Linked DNA regions of Homo sapiens: all the other regions are linked to region 3. The links are contacts of gene promoters, found by promoter capture Hi-C in human tissues and cell types (Jung and others, 2019). All regions are on one chromosome and are shown on one strand. Each heading gives the region's core, a stretch centred on a gene start or on the middle of the fragment in contact. The rest is flanking DNA. Distances are from core to core; before and after follow the strand shown.

Region 1 (3,285 bases), core at 271-2,770, 190 kb before region 3:
CCTGTCTGTGCGCACGTGTCCCGGTAGCTGGTGCAGAGGACACACCTCCGCGTTTTTGCTGGTGAACATCCTGGAGATGCTGGGAGTGTGTGGGCCCAGGAAGGACTTCTGTAGAGAACTTGGCTGCCTGGAGGGTGCGGGAGTGGGTGTCCGGGCCGTGGACCTATGCAGATTCTGTTTGGTTTTAAAGGAATAGTCAAGAGGCTGTTTCTCAAAGCCTGGCACAGGATGCCCACGACCTCCTCTCCTGCTGCCTGAGGAGGGATCCCCATTCTCCAGCCTCCCTCCAGGCCTCTGAACAGTGACCACGATGGCTAGGTCACTGTACACAGAGCTCCTTGGGTACCAGGCACCATTGTGTATACTCCATGTATGTTAAATCATTCGACTGGCATAGCAGCCCTGGGAGGGAGGCACCGCTATCATCCCCATTTTACAGATGAGGAAACTGAGGCACGGAGAGGCCATTCAGCTGGCCAGCAGCAGAGCCAAGATTTGCCCTTGAGGTTGGTGTTGAGTCCCAGAAGGCTGGGTATGTGGGGCCCAGAGCAGGGAGCCCAGCACAGGGACCGGGGTGCGGAACACACCCTCCCCACCTCAGGTTTGTAACCCCATGTCCCAACTACCTGCTTTCCTAAGCCCTCTGCCCAGCTGAGGGGGCTCCACCAGCTCTGCGCATTTTCACTCCCAAGCTTCTGTTTCCGGCCCAGCCTCCCCTCTCCACCTCTTGAGTACCTGAGATCCATTGAGGCCCAGCCGGGGAAAGGGAATGATGTGGCCAGGGCCACCCCTTACACTGCCTCACTAACCTCTTCGGCGCTACCCCACCCATGCTCGAGGCACATAGCTTGGCCGACACTTGCTGCCAGGCAGCCCTTCTACCGCTGTCTGGGCAGCTGCAGCATTTTTATAGGACTGTGACTCGTCTTCATGTTAGGTGATAAACTTCTGAGGGCAGGAGCTGGGCCGTGTGCCCGGGAGCGCTCCACGGGCTGGATTTGTGGGTCCCAGTGGGAGGCCCAGCGACGCCGTCTCTGGGGACCCCATTCCTGCAGATCTGGGTCTGGGAACTTGCTGCTCCTGCCCCATTTGTCATCTCCTGGCACTGACAGATGTGCCTGCCCCACTGACACTGCAGTAACTCCATCCACCTCGTTATTCACCACTCATGCAGTTCCCCCAGGTTGCTTAAGGGCTCTCTCACTTATGCCTGGATACAAGCCTCTTCTACCCGAGTCTTGCCTGGGAGAAATTTATAGGTGAGGGTGTTAGAGGAATGGCCACATAAGGAAAAACAACGGGGCCCACACAGCAGCCGGGATGTCGTTGGCTGGGACTTAGGCAGACCACGGCCTCCTCTCAGCCAATCAGGAAGCCCCTCCCTGCTGCTGGGGAGGAGGTGCGCGCTGGGCTTGAGCCTGGCTGGGGTGTGTGTACCACCCCATCCGCCTTCCAGGTGAGCAGGAGGGAGCAGGGGCTGTTAGACCCAGCTGGTCCGGGGCTGCACGATGTGAGTCATAAATTTATGGAAGGAGCCTATGGAGATGGTCGCAGTGGGGCGGTGACACTCCTGCCTGTCTTGCTGGCTGCTGCCCTCTGCTGGAGAGCCTGTTCCAGGTGTTAATTATTTTGGGTGGGTAGTAGCTAGCCTGCTCCAGGGATGACTTGGCTGGACCCCTCCTGCCTCGCACTTGGAGGAGTTGTGATGCTGCCACTGCCATGGCATGTCGGTCATCCACGGGACAGGCTGTTAGCCTGTCCTCATAGCCCACACTTGCTCCTGGTCATCCCAGCACCACTCGCCAAGCTCTGGCCCAGCTGTGCGGGGGCACACGTTGCGTCCGCATCAAGCATGGGCCCCAGTTTGGAATGTCCACCCCTCAGTGCTCACCGCTTGAAGATCAGAACTGTGCCGCGCCGGGCTCACACGCTTCCACAGGCCCCCTGTGCCGCCACAGCTGCCCAGAACTTGGGTGCCCTTGTGCGTCCACACCCCAAGCCTAAAGTCTGCAGAAAACGTGGGCTCGTTTTGCCCACCTGTTATTGCCACCAAAGCACCAGTGTGTCCTCAAGTTGCGTCAGAAAAGGTCATTTAAAACAAAATTCAGGACTGAAGTCCACTGTGAAGCATTTCAGCTTTTTTTAGGCGGGCGTGAATATCCAGCACGTGGTGCTCCTCCTCTTTTCAACTCCTTCCTATGGAACAGTGTGTGGAGTTGTCAACGTGGCCGGCAAAGGTGACCAGTGTCGGGCTGCACTTTGCAGGTGAAAACTGGGTCAGCCTTTCTTTAGTTTGATGCTTCTGTGAGCTGTGCCTTCTTGAAGGCACTATTTTTTTCTTAAAAAGCAGCAAAGGCATTCAAAGACAGTTGTCTCCACTGAGTGGGTTATGCAGGGGGAAGCTTGCTGCAGGCGAGAGAGCCAAGTTTCCTCACTGCCTCCCCTTTCTGATGTTTTTTTCTTGTATTGATTGATTGATTGATTTTTTGAGAGCTGGGGTCTTGCTGTGTTGCCCAGGCTGGTCTTGAACTCCCGGCCTCAAGCAGTCCTCCAACCTTGGCCTCCCAAAGTGCTGGGATGACAAGTGTGAGCCACTGCGCCCGGCCTGCCGCTCCTTTCTTGTAGAATATGTGAGTTCCTCTGCACATGCGGATGGCATCTCTGTCCCTCTGCCTGTCTTTTCTGAAGCCGGCCAGTCCCAGCGCAGCCCGTGGTTGTCTGCAGGTCACTTGTCCCACAGAGGTCCGCTGTCGCCATCACGTCGAGAATGACCATGTGACCTCTGAGGTTCGCTTCTGTTGGTGCAGGACCACATCTCACAAAGCCAAGGGAGCACCCCTGTTCCACGGCGTGGGTCAGGCCTCTTCTCGGGCTTTCTGGGAGGGCGCCACAGAGGTGTGAAGTGGCTTCTGAGGCTGCCTGTCTGGCCTGGCGCACAGGGCTTGCCATGTGGGGCACTGCCCTTGCCTGCCTTGGTAGGAACGTGCCTGGACTGTGGCGAAACTCAGCGCTGAGACTCCCAGGAGCGAGGTGGAAGCGGCCTCCTGAGCGCTTGCACCACGAATACGGGGGCGGCTGAGGAGAGGAGCATGTGGCTTTCTTGCTTCCCTGGCAGCTCCTGAAATCCTTTCTTTTCAGGAAATATTTCACTCGCAGATACCCAATTATCCTGTGAGGTTTGGAAGGCAAGTCTGAAAGCCCATTGAATCTACCACAGCCGTTCCTGCATAACAACTGCTTAATATCCAATCATGACAATTATACATAATTTGTGTTGACAGTGCC
Region 2 (3,347 bases), core at 118-2,617, 140 kb before region 3:
AAGTACGGGCAATATTTAATAATGGACTTCAATTAATGATAATGTATCAATATATCTTCGTTAACTATAACAAATATATGAATGTAAGGTGTTAGTAATAGGTGAAACTGGGAAATCTATACCTCCTTCTCAATTTTTTATAAATCTTAAGTTGTTTTGAGTCATGCACAGTGCCTGTAATCCTAGCACTTTGGGAGGCTGAGGTGGGAGGATTGCTTGAGGTCAAGTTTGAGACCAGCCTGGCCAACATAGTGAGGCCCCATCTCTACAAAAAAAAATTAAAAATTAGCCGAGCATGGGCGTGTGCCTGTGGTCCCAGCTACTTGGAAGACTGAGGCGGGAGGGTGGCTTGAGCCTAGAAGGTCGAGGCTACAGTGAGCTGCGATAGTGCCATCCCACTCCAACCTGGGCAACAGACCGAGACCCTATCTCTTACAATAATTAATTAAAAATAAAATAGTTCTGAGAAATTTTTTTAAGTATTTGGGATGCATTGCAGTCTTAACATTAACCTAAAACAGTACTGTTTTAAAACATTAACAACCCAGGCCAGATTTTAGCCAAATGGGTAAAGAAGAAAGCAGCAGAAGAGCCTCAGGCCCCACTCCCTCCCTCAGTCCACGAGCGGTGACTGTGCTTCTGCCAGGCAAACCCAAATCATGCAGAGAAATGGAGCAGAGAGGGAGAGTAGATCTACAGGAGCTCCTCCAGGAGGAGAGAGGGATAGAAAGAAGGAAGGGGAGGTGGAGGGGTCCACTTTGAGACTGCAGGGTGACGGAGAAGCCCAGGACACCATTTTTGGGTCTAGTGGGGAAGCCCCATCCTCCGCTGAAGGTCCAAACACCAGGTCAACCCCTGGAAGCCACAAGACTGAGCTGAGAAGGAAATGAGAAGCTTCCCAGACAGAGGGACATGGTTGTCCCTGGCACTCATTCTCCTATTCTCTTTCATCTGTCTCAGTCAATAGATGTTGATTGAATTCCTGCTCTGAGCCAGGCCCTGTCCCAAGTTCTGGGAGTCCTGTGAGGACCAAGCCAAGGGGCTGGAGAAGGGGGCAGGGGGGAGCTGGTGCCCAACAGATGAGACAGGGCCAAGGAGACACAGCCAGGCCAGGTGGGCTTGTGGCCTAGAATCCCTGTGCTTAGCGTCAGGAATCTGCGTCCACTCCTAGGCCGCCGTGACTGCTCCTTTTTCATCTTATTTTTCGTTTAGATTCCCACGGTAATAATCAGTTCCTGTGTCAGCCTCAACTGGGATTCATATTGACTTGGGTTTAGCAGGTGGAGTCGCCAGTCTATTTGCATAAATGTTGGGGTTTTGGCTGGAAGAGGAAGGTGGGGTTGTTGTCTTTCCTTTGCAGAGGTTTCTGGGGGGGAACTGAGGTGCAGAAGAAACTGGGATTTGGGGAGAGACAAGTGCTGTTTTGTAGTCCTTACAAAGAGAGTGACTTTCCCCCCGACCTCCGTGAACGATCCCCTGTGCCTTCAGCCAAGTGGGAACTGGAGTGAATGCAGAAACCACTTTGATGCCTCTAGGAAGTGATTCTTGTAAAAATCAGGAATCCGTGCCCTTGGCATAGGGGTATCAACTTTGTGAAGAAGAAGAAGAAGGAGCTGAAGCAGAGGCTCCACTGAAGCCCTCAGGAGACTTTGGGGGCCTTAAATATGAATGGCCTGGGTACATTATGGGGGGTGCCCAGGAACTCACTAAGGCCGGGCACCCTCAGAAACACTTTGTGGTGGAGGTCAGAGCATTTGTTCTGTTACAGTGAAAAAGATCCAACTGCACCCATAGGTGGGAAGCCCTGAGCCTACTTGAGAGCCAAAAGAGCAAATGGAACATTCCAGTTTAATCTCAGCTAGACGACGGATAAAACTAAAAGTCGCAGCAGCCAGAATGGCTTGTGAGATCGGAGTGTGTCTAGGGCAGAGGGAAGTGGGAGAGGGAAGGAGGAGGATTCTTCCTTCTAGGGAGAGGGAGGTGGAGGATGATCAAGAAAAGCTGGAAATGCCCGCCTCATTCTGATATGCCATCTGGTGGGCCATTTCCTCCCAATTCCATATATCCAAATCCTTCCCATTCCCCAAACTCCAGTCTCAGTCCTGGCCTGTGTGTATACTTTGTTCTTATAGAGAAGATTGTCTCTCTTTCTCTCTCTCTCTCTGTGTGTGTGTGTGTGTGTGTGTGTGTGTGTGTGTGTGTGTGTGCTTTAGAGACAGGGTCTTGCTCTGTCACTCAGGCTGGAGTGCAGTGACACCATCATGGCCTGCTACTACAGCTTTGACCTCCTGGGCTGAAGAGTTAAGAGAGACTCCTGTTTCAGTCTCCTGAGTAGCTGGGACTACAGTTGTGGACCACCATGCCTGGCTAATTTTTCAATTTTTTGTAAAGACAGGGTCTCAATATGTTGCCAAGCTGGTCCTGAATTCCTAGGCTCAAGTGATCCTCCCACCTAAGCCCCACAAATGGGGATTACAGGCATGAGCCCCTGTGCTTGGCAAGACTCTGTTGTATATACATATTACTGTGCTATGTACCTATGAGACTTTAGAAAACACAGCTGGGGAAATGGGTCCCTCCAACCTGAATGTGGGATCTGGGAGGCACACAATGACCTCCACTGCAATCCACTTCTTGCGTCACTCGGATCCACTTCTTACTTACACGTAGTAAGTTAATCCCATCAGTGAACAGCTTCTCTGGGATTCTGGATGGCCTCCTTTCCTGGAGAAGCCTCCAAGAGGACAGCTAGTGGGATGAAGGATGAACAGCAGCTCCTACTGCTACAGCTGACCTCAAGGCTATAGCTGGTTTTCATCATCTGCCTCCCCTACTACCCATTCGAGATTCCCTCACCCTTGGCTAGCACACCTCTCCTGGTCTAAGTAGTTCACCTGTGGGGTGACCCACACCTTCATGTCTGAGAAATCTGCATGCTCTATTACCATGTCCTTCTCAAGTCTTGGCTGCTGCACCTGTTGATTTACCATCAAACTTGGGCAGGGGATCATATCTGCAAAAGAAGTACAGGAAGAATAAATCAGAGGCTAATGAGATGGTTACCTACAAGAGGTATATGGGAACTGGGTAGAAACAGTGAGAGAGTTGCCGGATGATGGCTCAGATCTGTAATCCCAGCACTTTGGGAGGCCGAGGCAAGAGGATCACTTGATGCCAGGAGTTTGAGACCAGCCTGGCCAACATAGCAAGACCTTTTCTCTACAAAACGTATTTAAAAATTAGCTGGGCGCAGTGGTGCACCTGGAAGACACCATCTTAGCCTAAGTGATCACAGTTCACATCACCAGCAATAAAACACGGAGACATCACGGACCCCCTGCTGCAAT
Region 3 (3,408 bases), core at 268-2,767:
GGGGTCTCCGGAGCCAGGGCTGCCCCTACCCTGCGCGAGGCTCCTTTAAGAGAGTCGGCCTCTGAATGGTCTCTGGGGCTGGAGGTGGAGGGCGCCAAGAATGCCGGTCTCCGACGACAGAAGCGAGAGGGATGCAGCTTCGCCGGGTGGCCTCCCCCTCGGCGTCCCACCAGCACGTCCACCCTGGATCCTCCCGCTCCTACTCCTACCCCAAGTCCCCGCCCCCAACTTCGAAGCTCCTGTGTGCCTGCAAACGCCGGCCCCGCCCCGCTCCCACCTCCAGGCCCTGCCGCTGCCAGGGACCCGCCCCTGCCAGGGACCCGCCCCCGCCCCGTCCCACCCCGGTCCACCCTGCAGCCGTCGGACCCCTGGCAGGGCCCCAGCAAACCCGGAGGCCGCCACTGGGGGGAAGGACGGGGCGCCCGGCGAGGCCTCATCCACATGCAGGGGACGGCGCGTCGCGGCGGCCGCCAGGAAGAAACAAAGGCTGTTCCGCCGCCGGCCGCACAGTGCCAGGCTCGCCCCGCCCGCCGCCCCGGTGGCCCCGACGCGGCCCCCCTGGATCTTTTCCGCCGGCCTCGGCTGCACAGTCCGGACGGCTTCCGGGAGGAGGCAGCCTCCCTCGGATCCCCGCACTCCCGACCCTCTCCCGCGACCACAGCCTCCTTCTCCGTGTCTCCCGGGCATTCCAGGTCGCCTGGCCTTCTTGAGCCGGGCTGGATCGCGCGGGACCTGCACCAGAGACCCGAGTTCTAGTCCGCTGAGCCCTCACTCTGACCTGGGACGAGGAGCCTGTAGTGAAGATCTCAGGCCAGAGGTGGCCCAGAGCCTGGTAGGGTGGGCGAGCCGTGTCCAGGACTCGTCACAGGTCTTGGGTCCCCGTGATGAGGATGAGAGCCCCCGGGATCTTCACCTCGACCCTCAGGCCTTTGATCCAGGGTGCATAGGACACCCAGACCCCTCAGAGGAGTTCCAGACCTCAACCCCCACCCCTCCTGAGGTTGTCCGCCTGGGAGCCTCAGGAGGCACGAGAAAGGGTTTGGTCTCAGCCCTGCACTTGCTCGGCGATCGCTACTGATCTCTGGGCTTCAACTTCCACCTGTAGAATGGACTCACCCTGGGAGCTGTCTCCTACACACACACACACACACACACACACACACACACACACACACACATCGTGCAGGCATAGAGTACTAAAGGGAGCACACACTGCATCCCCACACGCGGCCAGCTGTTATTCTTGCCGTCCCCCTCGGCCTCCCTGAGAGCAGGGATTGTCTTGTCTCGGAGCTCTGCTCCCCAACCCGGCCCCAAGAATGGATGTAACTCAGGCAACTGGAGGGTCCCTTCCTTCGCCCAACTGGGAAGTCCTTCCTAGATCTGCCCCAAGTCCTCTCCTTCCTTCCCAGGCCGGGACTGGGGGAGGGGGCGTTCCCTTTAAGGGAGGTGGGGGAGGGGGCTGTGGGCCGGCCCTCCTTCCGCCCCTCCCGGGCCCCCGCCGCCCGGGGCCCCCAGTCCCGGGCCCGGAGCCAGCGCATGCGCCCGCCTGTGGGCGCTGTCCCGGCTGCGAGGGCCGTGAGCTCACGGACCGACGGACCGACGGGCGGCCGGCCGGACAGACGGGGCAGCGCAGGGAGCGGGGACGCGGCGGGACAGCGACATGGCCGGCCACACGCAGCAGCCGAGCGGGCGCGGGAACCCCAGGCCTGCGCCCTCGCCCTCCCCAGTCCCAGGGACCGTCCCCGGCGCCTCGGAGCGGGTGGCGCTCAAGAAGGAGATCGGGCTGCTGAGCGCCTGCACCATCATCATCGGTGAGCGGGACCCAGGCGGGCGGGCGCCGGGCGGAGGCCGAATGAGGGGCGCAGCCGCTCCGAACGAGGGGCGTCCCCTCTCCGGGCGCTCGGACGGGTCTGCCTGGGGAACCTGCAGTCTGGCCTCAGAGAGCGCTATGACCGCGGGGAGGTCAGGGGCTGCTGGCCCAGGGTGCCAAAGCTCCGTGTTCCCACCTCCCGGCCGCCTGCACCTGGGGGAGTTTTGGGTCCCCTCCACCGCTGGACTCTTCCTCCTGACTCGATTTTGCTGCGGGGCTTTTGCAAGGCAGTTACCCTCAGTTTCCTCATCTGTGAAATGGCCATGACTGCAGTCCTGCGATTAGCGCAGGAACTTGACCAGTGTAGGGGCTGGTCAGGCTGCGGCAGGCTGAGCTCCCCAAGTTCTGTACTGTGGGTCAGTCTGAGTACCTACTGTGTGCAGGGTCCAGGTGCCACGCAGTGCAGTGACTTTATTCTTGGAAAGCAGGAGGGCCTATGAGCAGAGTGAGCAAGCGCAGCCTGCGCAGAAGGGACGGAGGTTCAGAGCAGGCAATGACTGCAGGGTTTGGCAGCAGGACCCAGGAGAGGGGGCGGGTTAGCCAGCAATTGGGGGCAGCAGTGGGCAGACCCAGCCTGCAGAAGGCCAGCTGCTCCCTGAGCTGGGATCCTGGTGGGCACTGGACACTCGCCTGGTCTGGAGGCCCTGGACTCCAAAGTCCCCACCTGAGAATGGGTCCATGTCCTGCCCCCACATAGGGGTTTCTGGGCAGGCAGAGAGCTCAGAGGTCATGGGAATGGCAGTGGTATTTTTCCACTCTCTGTCCCAAGTCATGGATACTGACTTGTTTCTTTGTCTACACAGAGTGCCTCTGAGCCCCTCCAGGGAGGGACAGGAGAAGTGGTTTGGGGGGTGAGTGACTGGGGCCTCGACTGTTCTCACCTTACCGCCAGCCAGTCTTCCCGGTCCCCTGCCAGTGAGAGCCACTTGTGTCTTCACTGCCTTCCCACCCTCAGACCCCTGGAGATGGAGAAAGTTTGGGGGCTCAGTAGGGCAGACCCAGGGTCTTCACCTCGTCCTCTCCCACCCCCACATTAGCAGCTCTTCACATCCAGAGTTGCCCCTGAACACAGCCCCTGGCCAGGTCACTCCGCCATCTCACCCCCTCCCCTTAGAATGCTGTCTCCCAGAGCCTGGTCCTGACCTGGCCCTGGGAGCTTCTTGGCCTAGGATGCCCCTGCCTGATGGACGGTCTGCTGGAAGGAAGGGCTGGTTCCAGGGATTTGGCCAGGGTGCTGGTTAGAGCTTTTTCTTGGCCCACACCCTCTCCAGGAACTGTCCTCCAGGGAAGGGGAAGCTCACACCATGAGTGGGTCATAGGATTGAGACCATGCCTAGAACCAGCTACAGTGCCAGGCAGGTGCAGAAAGACACAGCTCTGCCTGGGCTCCTCAGCTAAGCCCAGCATCCTTGACCTGTCTTCCTACTCTATCCCCTCCCCACATCCCATCCTCCCCAGGCCACAGGGAGGCTGCCTGGCTCCTTTCTCCCCAGAAAGGGGCCCTGGTGGTGGTGGTGGTGGTGGTGGTGGTGGTG

Evidence for each region. Contacts are between HindIII fragments. The study calls those that stand out against the background at their distance.
Region 1: a fragment that was not itself captured here is called in contact with the fragment with the promoter of SLC7A10 in region 3 in 1 of the 25 tissues and cell types used here (spleen).
Region 2: a contact is called between a fragment that was not itself captured here and the fragment with the promoter of SLC7A10 in region 3, in 2 of the 25 tissues and cell types used here (H1 embryonic stem cells and bladder).

The regions. Positions count from the first base shown.
Region 1 is chr19:33,414,711-33,417,995 of GRCh38, reverse strand. All of the region lies in intron 9 of PEPD (peptidase D), which reads left to right. Among named protein-coding and RNA genes, the nearest start is that of CEBPG, 43 kb to the right of the region's middle. RefSeq lists an enhancer at 1,512-1,661. The HindIII fragment of the contact is 3,918 bases long and covers 1-3,285 here.
Region 2 is chr19:33,362,327-33,365,673 of GRCh38, reverse strand. No RefSeq gene overlaps it. Among named protein-coding and RNA genes, the nearest start is that of CEBPG, 9.7 kb to the left of the region's middle. The HindIII fragment of the contact is 9,696 bases long and covers 1-3,347 here.
Region 3 is chr19:33,223,959-33,227,366 of GRCh38, reverse strand. It overlaps SLC7A10 (solute carrier family 7 member 10), which reads left to right and starts at 1,517. Exons shown (of 11, transcript NM_019849.3): 1 at 1,517-1,814. The coding sequence starts at 1,664. The HindIII fragment of the contact is 48,714 bases long and covers 1-3,408 here.